Linked DNA regions of Homo sapiens: all the other regions are linked to region 3. Evidence: promoter capture Hi-C in human tissues and cell types (Jung and others, 2019). All regions are on one chromosome and are shown on one strand. The core of a region is centred on a gene start or on the middle of the fragment in contact, and the rest is flanking DNA. Distances in the headings are between cores, read along the strand shown.

Region 1 (3,880 bases), core at 893-3,392, 100 kb after region 3:
GTGATTTGCCACTGCTGAAAGCATCCTGGAAGTCCCTCCAGCACCTCAAACTCAGCAGAATTCAAGCAGAACTTACCCCATGTCAAAACTGCCCCTACTCCTTGGCTGTCCACACAGTCCCTCAGATAGGAAACCTGGGCATGCCCCGTCTCACCCCTCTCCTGGCCAGCACATCTCACCCACGGCCATGTGCTGGCCTTTTCTGCCTGGGAACACCATATCTTCCTGTTGGGCCCTGCTGCCCATGCTACCTGGTTAGGTCTTCACGAGTCCTCCCCTTCCTCGCTGGGCTCCTGCCCTGCAATCTCCCTCCATACTACCCAGTGAATCTTTCTTAGACACAGAATTAATCAAACATGTGGGCAGGCTTGAGACAGCAGGAGCCAACTTGTCTCTGGTCCGCCGATGAATGAATGGCGGGCAGAGGTTGGGAAGTGGGCTGGGCAGGCCCACTGTGGGCTCACACTCACTGAGCGCCAACCGTACACTTTACCGTCATCATACCCAGTGAAGGTGGGTACCACTGGACCCATTTCACAGATGGGGAAATTGAGGGTACAGAGGTCATGAATGTCACACCCAGCCCCCAGCCAGGAGATGACAGAGTTGGATTTTGAACTCCAGTCTAACTTCAGAGCCTGATTCTCTTCAATGTTTAGAGGTTATCTCTAGAGACTAAGGGGAAATAATTTGTGTTTGGGGCCCTTAAGGGTCAGTGAATCAAGTGGCTTCCTGAGAAAGGAAGGAAGTCTCTTGCGGGGGGGCAGGGGGTGGTGTATGTGTGTGTGTGTGTGTGTGTGTGTGTGTGTGTGTGTGTGTGTGTGTGTATGTCCAGCTCCTGGGCAGACCTGTGCGTCCAGCCTGAAAGTGAATGTTGCTGCCACTGCTGCCCTCCACTGACCAGAGGCAGAACTGTTCCAATCTCTTGGGAATCTGACTTCACAGGGGACTACATTGCCCAACTCCACGGACCCTGAGAAACCAGATGGGTTAAGGTTAAATCCCTAATATACAAAGAGTTCTTAAAAAGCAATAAGAAACAAACAAATTTAATCCAACAGAAAAAAATAGACAAAGGACATAAACAGGCCATTTCACAAAAGAAAACATCCAAATAGCCAATAAGCAGATGATCAATTTCACTAATAACCAAATAAATGATAATAAAAACAATAATGACAAGTTCACCTGTTAGATTACAAATTGACAATGCCTTCTTTTAGAAAGAGTGCTGAGAAACAGGCATTCATGTATTGTCAGTAGCAGTGAGATTGGTACTAGCTTTTTGGAGGGCAATATCAAAAATTTTAATATTCACATTTTTTTTTGAGACAGGGTCCAGGCTGGAGTGCAGTGGTGTGTGTAATCACAGGGCACTGCAGCCTCGACCTCCAGGGCTCAAGTCATCCTCCTGCCTCAGTTTCTCAAGTAGCGTGGACCATAGGCATACACCACCATGCCCAGCTAATTTTTAAATTTTTTGTAGAGGCAGTATCTCCCTATGTTGCCCAGGCTGATCTTGAACTCCTGAACTCGAGTGATCCTCCCACCTTGGCCTTCCAAAGTGCTGGATTATAGGCATAAGCTGCCATGCCCAGCCCCTACATTTTTCTACCTAACTGTTCTGCATCTAGAAATTTATCCTAAAAATGCAAAAGAATATATGTTTAAAGGTGTTTGCTGCTACAGTGTTTATGGTCCATCTATGGACTATAGAGAAAAATAGGGAGCCACTAAAAATAAAGACGTAACTGGATTCTGCTCATGTTCATGCTGATCACGTTTATACATTTATGTAAATTGTATATTTGTATGTGAGTATGTAATCAAAGTAAAACTTTGACAGTAATAAGATAAATATATTTTTTACATAGATATCCATGACATATTATGGAGTGAAAAACTGAGATTGCACCATAGTTAAAATACTATGATCCAGTTTACATAAAGTTGTGGGTGTGTGTTTGTGTGTGTGTGTGAACATAAGGAGTTATCTTGGAAGACTGTTACCAAAATCTTAATGGTGGCTACCTTTGTATAATAAGATTTCACTTAAATTTTACTTTCTCCTGTATACTTCTCTTATGGTTTAAATTTCTTTTTAATGAGTCTATATTATTTTAATAATGAAAACAATAAAGTTGTTTTCATTCTGAAGAAAGAGAACAGTCAGAAGATCTTGCTTCCCCAGGTGGGGGAGCCCAGTGGTAGGATGGGGGTGGCCCTGCTAGGACAGCAAGCTGGTGGTTGGGATATTAAGGTGGGGTGCAGAGATCTGGAGCTGCATCTGACCCAGTGTAAAGTTGCCTGGAATGAGTCCTAGATGGTCAGAGAGGAAAACGCCTGCTGGTCTAACACCCTCTGTGTGAGGCAGGAGTGACAGATTACATGGCTCAGATTGGGCAAGGGAATTGGCCAAGGTTACACAGTGAGCTAGTGCTGAATTGGGCACCAAAACCCAGGCCTTCAGACCCTAGGCCAGGGCTCCTTCCTCACTGCTCTCACTTCATAAGGTGGATCTGAAGGTCAGAAGTTAGATCAGGTTAGGCAGCAGGTTTCCACTGAGATGGTGCTGTTACTGATTTGCTGGGAGTACAATTATCTCCAATTTAGCCTCCTTAGCACTGAGCCAGGAAGTCATTGCTCCCTGGGAACATCTTTGTGCCACGTGCCTGTTCCTGATGCTGAGCTGGAAGCTGGGTTGTAAGGGATGGATGGTGGCCTCTCTCCATCCCCAGTCTTCCTGCCTCCAGAACCGCCTCAGCAATTCATTCTCTACACCACCCTAGGGGGATTCCCTGAAAACTCTACTCCCACGCGTCGCCTCTGCTTGGAAAAGCTCTCTGTGGTTCCCCACCGCCCTTATTCAAGGCCTTCAGTGATGTGAACCCACCCTCCATTTGCAGCCCTTGCCCAGCCCCTCCAGCCACCTGCACAGGGGGCCCATCCTATGTGCTGACTCTACCAAGTCTTTTTACCTTCCTGTACCTTGGCTCATGCAACTCTTTCTATTTATTATTATATTCCTGCCTTCTATAAGTGCGAAGCTTTTGATCCTTCTTTAAAATCATCCTAAATAAATGTTCTTTCCTCCAGGAAGCCTTCTTTGACTCCCAGAGGAATTTTTTTTTTCCTGTTTCTTTTTTTTTTTTTTTTTTTTGAGACAGAGTCTTGCTCTGTGGCCCACGCTGGAGTGCAATGGCACAATCTCGGCTCACTGCAACCTCTGCCTCCTGGGTTCAAGGGATTCTCCTGTCTCAGCCTCCTGAGTAGCTGGGATTACAGGCGCCTGCCACCACGCCTGGCTAATTTTTGTATTTTTAGTAGAGATGGGGTTTCACCATGTTGGTCAGTCTGGTCTCGAACTCCTGACCTCATGATCTGCCCGCTTCAGCCTCCCAAAATGCTGGGATTACAGGTATAAGCCATCGCGCCCGGCCCTTTTTTCTGTTTCTTAAGAGCATACTTTATTCATCTTTGTACCGTCTGTGGCTAGCCCTGTGCTTAGCATACAGTGAGCAGACAAGAGATGCTGGTCAAATGAAGAGTCAACTGCATTTAATTAAACTGTCTCATTTTCCCCTCCTCTCCCACCCCTTTTACTTTAGAATGCAAGGGATGGAAAAACTCTCTAAACTTTTTCAGAGGAGAAGAATATAGGAGGTCTTACATTTCACTTTCAGTATAAGTACAGCACTGGTCTTAGAGTTAAAGTATTATGGAAACGTTTGTTTTTATAAATATATCACAGGTTGGAGATACTGACATATAATAAGATAAAATTATTAGCCCAAGGTTTAGTTGGCAACACCTTGACTGTATTTACTTTTATAATCATGAGAAACATTGCTTCAAACCATGTTTGTTATACATAATAAGC
Region 2 (3,705 bases), core at 1,185-3,684, 100 kb before region 3:
ATGGGAAGATATGGAGACCATTTTTCAACGTACTGAAACAGAAATTGGAGTGGAACAGGTACACTACAACTTGTCTGCCCTCATCTGGTGCCTTTTTAACCACGTTGATGCCACCCTTTGACCCTCAAACCATGGACCCCCCCCCAGCAGCTTTGAACCCCACTGGTTGCCACCATTGTCTGGAATGCTTCTGTTCTGTCCTGCCTTTGTTGCTTACTCTGTTCCTTCATCTACCCACATGAATCATGAAAAACAGAAACTTCTATTTTCTCTCATTTTTGGCTTTAGGAAAGAAATAGGAAAGTGATTAGTGAACTGAGAACCAATTAGGTTTTTCTGGGTTTCATGGTTATGGTTCTCTCAGAAACAATTTTTACTCATCCTCTTGCTCCTCTCACTTCTGGTCTCTCTGAGTAATGATTTGACCAAGTCCTGACATCACTTGACACTTACCACTTGACCAAGTCCTACGCCAACCAACCTGGATTCCTTTGTGGGGGAAATCAGACAAGACTGAGATTGTGTTGCCTCCTCCCATTACCTGTCTCATCCCCGTTCAGAGTGTTTGTTCTCATTTTCTATGCCCAACATGGACCAGGTAAGCCTAAGAAAACGTGAGAAGAAAAATATGAAGAGATGTCCAATATAAACTGCAGTATACATCATGAAACACAGTTTACATGGCTGGGCTGGGTCTTCTCCATAGTCTCCTAGTTATGCTGTGGCATGGTCTCCATAAGGCACTGTAGTAGTTATCCACTGCTGTGTAACAAATTACCCCAACATTTACCAGCTTAAAACAAAATTTTCTACTTATCTTTTAAGACTCAATTCAAGCATTACCTCTCAGAAGGCATTTCCCAGCTTGCTTTTTAAGAATTAGTAATCTTCCTCTTTGATATTTCTTCGTACTTCAGCATCTCATTATAGCATTTACCACATTGTTATAATTGCTAGGGACCATGTCTTTTTCATACCCTTAACTTCAGTTCCTAAAACTATTTCTTGAATGTCACAGATGCTCAGTAAATGGTTGTTAAAAGAGCTTAAGAATAACTCATACCTTTATCGGCTTTCACTTTATTCTTTATAAAACGTAGGTATATTGCAAAGTATCCAGCCTTGTTTCCTGTGATAGGCTCATATATCGTTGTTGAAGGTTAAATGTAAAGAAACGTTGTATATGTCCAAGACTGCTTGACTTGCCAACTTATCTACTCCAGTGAAGACTTCTTGAATTTATCTTTATCTATAGGTCTCTGTGCCATTCCTAGTCTGAAACCAATTCTGGCCCTTATAGGAAATTATACAGTGAGCACCCCTAGTCCAAAGATACTTGGTTCAATAATAAAATCAACATTTGTTCACTATTCAGATATTTGACTCTTAAATTTTATGAGGGTACATCTGTGTCTGGCTTATTCACTGCTCTTTTCCCGACACCATGCCCTAGTAGCTGCACAGCAAATACTTAGTGAATGAATTAATGAAACTCAATTCTTGATAATTCATGTCCCATTCCTGTTATCCAGGTCCTGACCTCTGATCACCCAGAATCTTAGGCCTGATTCATCATTTCATGTGACCCAGACTTTTTGTTTTGGTCCTTGACTTTTATCTTCCAGGGCCTTATTATGGCTGGATAAGAATCTGACTCCTTGCTTACTCAGAACTAAAGTATCTCTTTGTTTCTTGATCGTCCTAACTAATAATATAGGCCAGATGCCCTTAGAAAAATATTATTTTCTCTACCTGAAGCCAGAAACATTCCGAATACATATTAAATGTATTTAAAAATATTTAAACTGAAGATAATTACATTCAAATTTCTAAAGAAAGTGAACAGGCCCTTTGAGAAACAAGTTTTGGGCAGAGACCAGCGTCTAAAATTTTGTGAGTCTATTAGAATGATTAACTTGTAAGCTTCAGCAAATCAATGCAAATTAATTTTTATACCCACCAGTGAATCAAAGGAGGGGAGGGAATTGAGTGAGTGTGTAAATATGGTTGCTAGGGAAACTTTTCCTGACAGAAGAGAGAACCTCGCAGGAATTTTTACAGGCCCACAGAAGCAATGTAACCTGATCTTTCTCTGTTCTCTTTCTAATGGGGGAAGAAAAGATGTAGAAACCATGGGTACAGATAAAGGTGGCTTTAGACTTTTCAAGAGACTTGAGGAGTAAGTTCTCCAGAACAAATGATGACTATTATAAGGCACCCGTTCGTTTTAAGGAACCATCTGGAAATGAATCTATCTCTAAAATAGTATTAATGAATCAATCTCTATAATAGTATTAATTTACTCAACAAATATTCAGCACTTTCTTTTTTTTTGTTTTTTGTTTTTTTTGTTTTTTTTTTTTTTGAGACGGAGTCTCGTTCTGTCGACCTGGCTGGAGTGCAGTGGTGCAATCTTGGATCACTGCACCACCTCCGCCTCCCAGGTTCAAGCGATTCTCCTGCCTCAGCCTCCCGAATAGCAGGACTACAGGTGTGTGCCACCATGCCCGGCTAATTTTTGTATTTTTGGTAGAGATGTGGTTTCACCACGTTGTCCAGGGTGGTGTTGAACTCCTGACCTCGTGATCTGCCCTCCTCGGCCTCCCATAGTGCTGGGATTACAGGCATCAGTCATGTGCCCGGCCTTATTCAGCACTTTCTAAATAAAAAATATGTATTTTCATTGTCCAGAAGGAAATACAATTATAAGCAGTTGATAATTTGAAAGTACTGCATTACACCTAGTTCTTCCAAGTTTTGCCCCAAATTAATTTTTTTAGTATAGGGTAATGTGAACTTAATTAAATATTTAATGCTGTTTCTAGAAATAAAATTCTGCTTCTGTACAAAAAGCTTAACAGGAGTGTATCTTCTGTTATTTCTATTCTTTGGTTGCTGCTCCTGAGAAAAAACTAATTCATTGGTCCATAAAGCCATACCCCAAAGTAGATGTTCATCTAGTGACAGTGTCATCTTAATTTTAGATATAGTACCAGTGTAGGACACATCCGTCTCCTTGATGGCTAAAATCATGAGATCCTTCTTATTTTAGCTGTACGGGATGGATGGTTTCAGGTCTTAAAATCTTGGCTGTAAAATGCATTTGGATTGAAATATGGAACACTGTCCCATATCTGAAGCCTACCATTCAGTGTCTCCATTCCTTCTCTTCCCACTTTTATTTTGTTTTCAGTTACAAATAAGGCTTGCATTTGTTTGAAAAAGTATATACTTTTTAAGCCCTTTAATACTTCAATGTGCTAGAGTTATGTTCCAAGCACAGTATCTTCCGCTGGCCTGCAGAGAGGCAGTTGGAGGTAAGGGTTCACTGCAGGGACACTAGAGCCATAATGCTGGGGTTCCAGCCTTGCCTCTGCCACTCATGAGCTGTGAACTTCCCAGCCGCCTTCCATCTGTACTCTCTCTGCTCTAGTCTTCTTGGGTATAGTGGGGGAGAATCACAGTCCCTACCTCGAAGAATTATAGAATTAAACAGGTTAATAATGTGAGGTACATAATAAGAATTGTGTAGGTTTTACCTTTCTTTATTTCCTGGGGCCTCCTAGATAGAATTGATATTTGAAGGAAGAGAAAGTTGAGATGTATAAAGGTATAATAACTTGCCTAAAGTATACAGTAAATTTAGGCTCAGACTATTCTCATTCTTAAATTACCAAGGAAGTTTTCCATTCCGCCTAGTAAGAG
Region 3 (3,928 bases), core at 1,210-3,709:
GACAGGTGGGTCCCTGGGCTGGGGAAGGGACCTTAAGTGGATGGCATATCCTCCACACTTTTCTGGAGCTGGGTCATTTGAGGGTGCCCTCAGCTGCAGTTCACACGGTAGATACCAGCTTTCTTCACACGGTGTCCCTTGGAGTGAGAGGGTCCAGAAGCCCTTTCTGCTCTGCGCCCCCCTACCCGCCATTCCCACTTGGGAGATGATGACTGTTGGGCTAGCAGCCTCTGGACACCTGGGGCAGAACCCAGACTCTCCCATCTTCCAGCACACACCTCTCGATAGAGCTGCACAGCATCCAGAATAGCCTTGGGATGGCTTTGGTTCACTGAGCACTTTTGCATGCTCAAATAGAAAATGATTAGGGCAGAGATGAGGCATCTAAGCCTTGAATAAAGAAGGAGAAAGGGCATTCCAGACCGAGGCATAAGTGCAAAGGCACAAGCATGAACGTGGAAGTGCAAATGAGAGGCAGGTGAGCTGGCTGGATTAGACGTGTGTGCTGCTAACCGTGACCTGTGTTGACCACATGCCTCTGAACCAGGCACTGTGCTAGAAATGAGACTGGGGTGAAGCACAGAATAACCATGTGCCCTCTTGCGTGGAGTGAAATCTACCCCACATCTATGGGGGGAGGGGAAAAAGAGGCAGCTTGGCCTTACTGCTCCTCCCCCTTCATCAGGTTTTTCCCTAAGGGACCATTTCTACCTGTTAAAAATTTAGGTTATGGCTGCTCACATCTGTAAACCCAGCACTTTGGGGAGGCCGATGTGGGAGGATTGCTTGAGGCCAGGAGTTTGAGACCAACCTGGGCAACATAGAGAGACCCCATATCTACAAAAAAATACCAAAAAATGGCAAGGTGGTGCATACCTGTAATCCCAGCTATTCTGGAGGCTGAGGTCGATCACTTGAGCCCAAGAGTTCAAGGCTGCAGTGAGCTATGATTGCACCACTGCACCCCCAACCCAGGTGACAGACAAAAACCCTATTTTTTTTTAAAAAAAAAGCAGGGGTGGGGGTGGTTTGAGGGTCAGGCCACAACCTACTGAATCACAGTCTCTAAAGGACAATTACTTACTTGAAAGTAACTTTCAAGAACCAACACTCACATCTTAATAACTCCTCTTTGGAAAGCCTATTAAAATGGAACTGTCTTGGAGGAGAAACACACTGATTAGTTGATCCCCAGGGGGTAGAACTAGGGACTGGAAAGCCTGTCCCAGGAGGCAGGGAATGGCTGGCAGGACCCTGAGCTGACGGGAGGAGGAGGATGCTGAGATTGGGGAGTGAGCCCTGGGGAGCCCCCAGGCAAGAACGAACGCCCCATGTGCTGCCGCCTCTCCTGCTGCTGGAGTGCAGGCCACGTGCGCAGGTGCACCACTGGCCTATAGGACTCTGGGCAGTTCTTTTCACTTTCTGGACCTTAATTTTCCCTTTATGGAAGAAAATGAAAACCAGGCCCCACCTGAGTTTGTTGTGTGTAGCAAAGAGGGAGGGAACCAAACCTACTCCTAAAAGAAGATGTGGTGAATTTGATTCACACCAATAAGTATCCATCTTCTTTAGATGAAAAGCTCCAACCTGCTGCAAGTTTGCAGGGTGCACCTGCAATAGGCATTTGCTATTCCTGTTGTTTACACTTCACACTGAATTTCACAGACCTATTTCCATCATGATCCACAATTTAAAGAAATATTTCCCAAACTTGTATACACATTTCAATATCTATCAACTGAAACAAACATTTCATGAAACAAAACCTACCCTTACGTACAATATAGAATATTTTCCATTGTATTCCTGTTCGTATTTTAAAAATCTTGGTCACGACCCACTAAACTCATTACACGGCCTTCAGATAGGTCACAACTGGAACTTTAAAAAGCACTGCCCAGAGTAAATCACAACGGTTCAACATCCACGAATTTACATGGTTCTCTCTCCTGGGTGACTGGTGTATGTACTGGTGTACATTCTACTGAGAAGGTAAAGGGCTCCACTAGGTGAACTGTCCAAGGTCACAGGTGCCGAGTGCCCTTCAGATCTGGCTGAGGCTCTGTGCAGAACGGCTTTTCCTGCGTGGCAAACACCATACCTTGATTGCCAGCTGTTCCCAAGAACCAAAGACACTTCCCCTGGGGAGGGAAGAGGAGTCTGTACAAAATGACAGAGCCTCCAGCCAACCAGAACTGGCCTACTCAGACCCACCCTCTTCCAGGTGATTGGCCCCAAAAGGGTTGCCAGCCCCACTCCACCTTGGGGCCAGCTTCCCCCAAAAGGTTGCATCCCCGGCAGGTCCCTCGCAGGCAGTCCATCCTGACTGCTCCTGTGGGTGCAGCTCCTCAGGTAAAGGGGGAGGAGCTGCTTGTTCCAGATCTCCAGGAGCAGGCCATTTCTTCCCCAGCTCTAAGCTGGGAAAGTTTGCTCCAGGCCATCCTACCTGCTTCCCCATATGGCTCTCAAGGAGGGACTCAGGTGAGGGGGGACAATGGTATGGAGAGGAAGAAAGCTTGGGGACAGCTGAGCTAAGAGGGATCCAGTCTGATGGCTAAAACAGTACCAAGGGGAGGCACCAGAGTGAGCCCAGGAGTACCAGCTGAGCCTCCAGTCCTGGGGAAAGGTGGCTCCGAGAGGGGACATTGCCCCAGGAGAAGAAAGACAATCCGTGTGCATGGACACCGGGGTGGGGGAGGTTGTATTCCACAAGATTTTGTAGCCAATGAAAAGCTGGACTCCCCTTGCTTCCCTTAACTCTAAACCCCCTTGGCGAGCCGGAAAGCAGAGACCCGGGGGTACATTCCCTCCCCGACTGTAACTGAGAGCTCCCTCTATCCCCACTGGGACTGATGGTCCAGGACTAGGAACCTGTGCCCCCTTAAGACCTAATGGCTGATCTTTAACCCTTTCTTGAAGCCAACGAGAGTGGGGAGCAGGGCACAGGGTGGAGCTTGAGGGACCACCTTCTGCAGGTAGAACCTGAACAAGAAATGTGGAGGAGTGGACTGATCAGGGGCCTCCACAGACCACGGGCTCCCAGGCTGGGGCATAGGAGGGGCAGGAGGAGCTGGTGGGTCCCACCCAGTCCTGGGTCTCAGCACCCTCCCAGGCCTGACCACAGGAGTTCACAAGACCAACTCTGCCTGTGTGCCCTGGCTGAGGCCCAGAGCCCAGAATAAGCATCGGTTTGCCCTACCCTGGTTGGGAGGAGGCTGGTGAAGAGGGTGGGACAGCCACAGAGGGGGAGAAAGCCCCTCCAGCCTTTTCCTGCTCCTGTAGTACCTTACGCAGTACCTCGCACACCTCCCACAGTGCACCTCCCGAGGCAGCCTTGCCAGCTCCCAGTACGGGGTTTGACCAGGCTTCTAGGAACCAGAGAAGCCCAGCTGCAGCCAGCCCTCCAGGAGCTCAGACAGGAGCTGAATAGAGTGCGAAGGGAAGAAGCCAAGCCCACGGGGAGAAATAACAGGGCCGAGAACCTTGTGAGATGAGCCTCAGGGCTGAGCTAGGCCCAGGTCAAATGGAACCCAAATGCCATGCTGGAAGCTCTGGCTGGGGGATCGGGCAGTCCTACTCAAAGCCCAACCCCACCCATTACCCGCCGTGCAAATGCCTTGGTGTAAAGTGTAAACAGGAATGGCAAATGCCTACTGAAGGTGCACCCTGAAAACCTGCAGTAGGTTGGGGCTTTTCACCTAAAGAACACGGATACTTATTGGAGGAGAAACAAGCTGATTAGTTGATCCCCAGGGGGTAGAACTAGGGACTGGAAAGCCTGGTGCCCCAGGAGGCAGGGAATGACTGGCAGGACCCTGAGCTGACAGGGGAGGAGAGGATGCTGAGATTGGGGAGTGAGCCGTGGGGAGCCCCCAGGCAAGAACGAACGCCCCATGTGCTGCCTCCTCTCCTGCTGCTGGAGTGCAGG

The links. Contacts are between HindIII fragments. The study calls those that stand out against the background at their distance.
Region 1: a contact is called between a fragment that was not itself captured here and the fragment with the promoter of A3GALT2 in region 3, in 3 of the 25 tissues and cell types used here (adrenal gland, hippocampus and liver).
Region 2: a fragment that was not itself captured here is called in contact with the fragment with the promoter of A3GALT2 in region 3 in 4 of the 25 tissues and cell types used here (H1 embryonic stem cells, IMR-90 fibroblasts, dorsolateral prefrontal cortex and 1 more).

What each region holds. Positions count from the first base shown.
Region 1 is chr1:33,215,880-33,219,759 of GRCh38, reverse strand. It overlaps a transcript of ZNF362 not described here. Among named protein-coding and RNA genes, the nearest start is that of TRIM62, 36 kb to the right of the region's middle. RefSeq lists an enhancer at 1-352. The HindIII fragment of the contact is 7,640 bases long and covers 1-3,880 here.
Region 2 is chr1:33,422,758-33,426,462 of GRCh38, reverse strand. All of the region lies in intron 1 of PHC2 (polyhomeotic homolog 2), which reads left to right. Among named protein-coding and RNA genes, the nearest start is that of PHC2, 6.5 kb to the left of the region's middle. The HindIII fragment of the contact is 3,548 bases long and covers 661-3,705 here.
Region 3 is chr1:33,319,629-33,323,556 of GRCh38, reverse strand. A3GALT2 (alpha 1,3-galactosyltransferase 2) reads left to right here and starts at 2,459. Exons shown (of 5, transcript NM_001080438.1): 1 at 2,459-2,481. The coding sequence starts at 2,459. The HindIII fragment of the contact is 15,797 bases long and covers 1-3,928 here.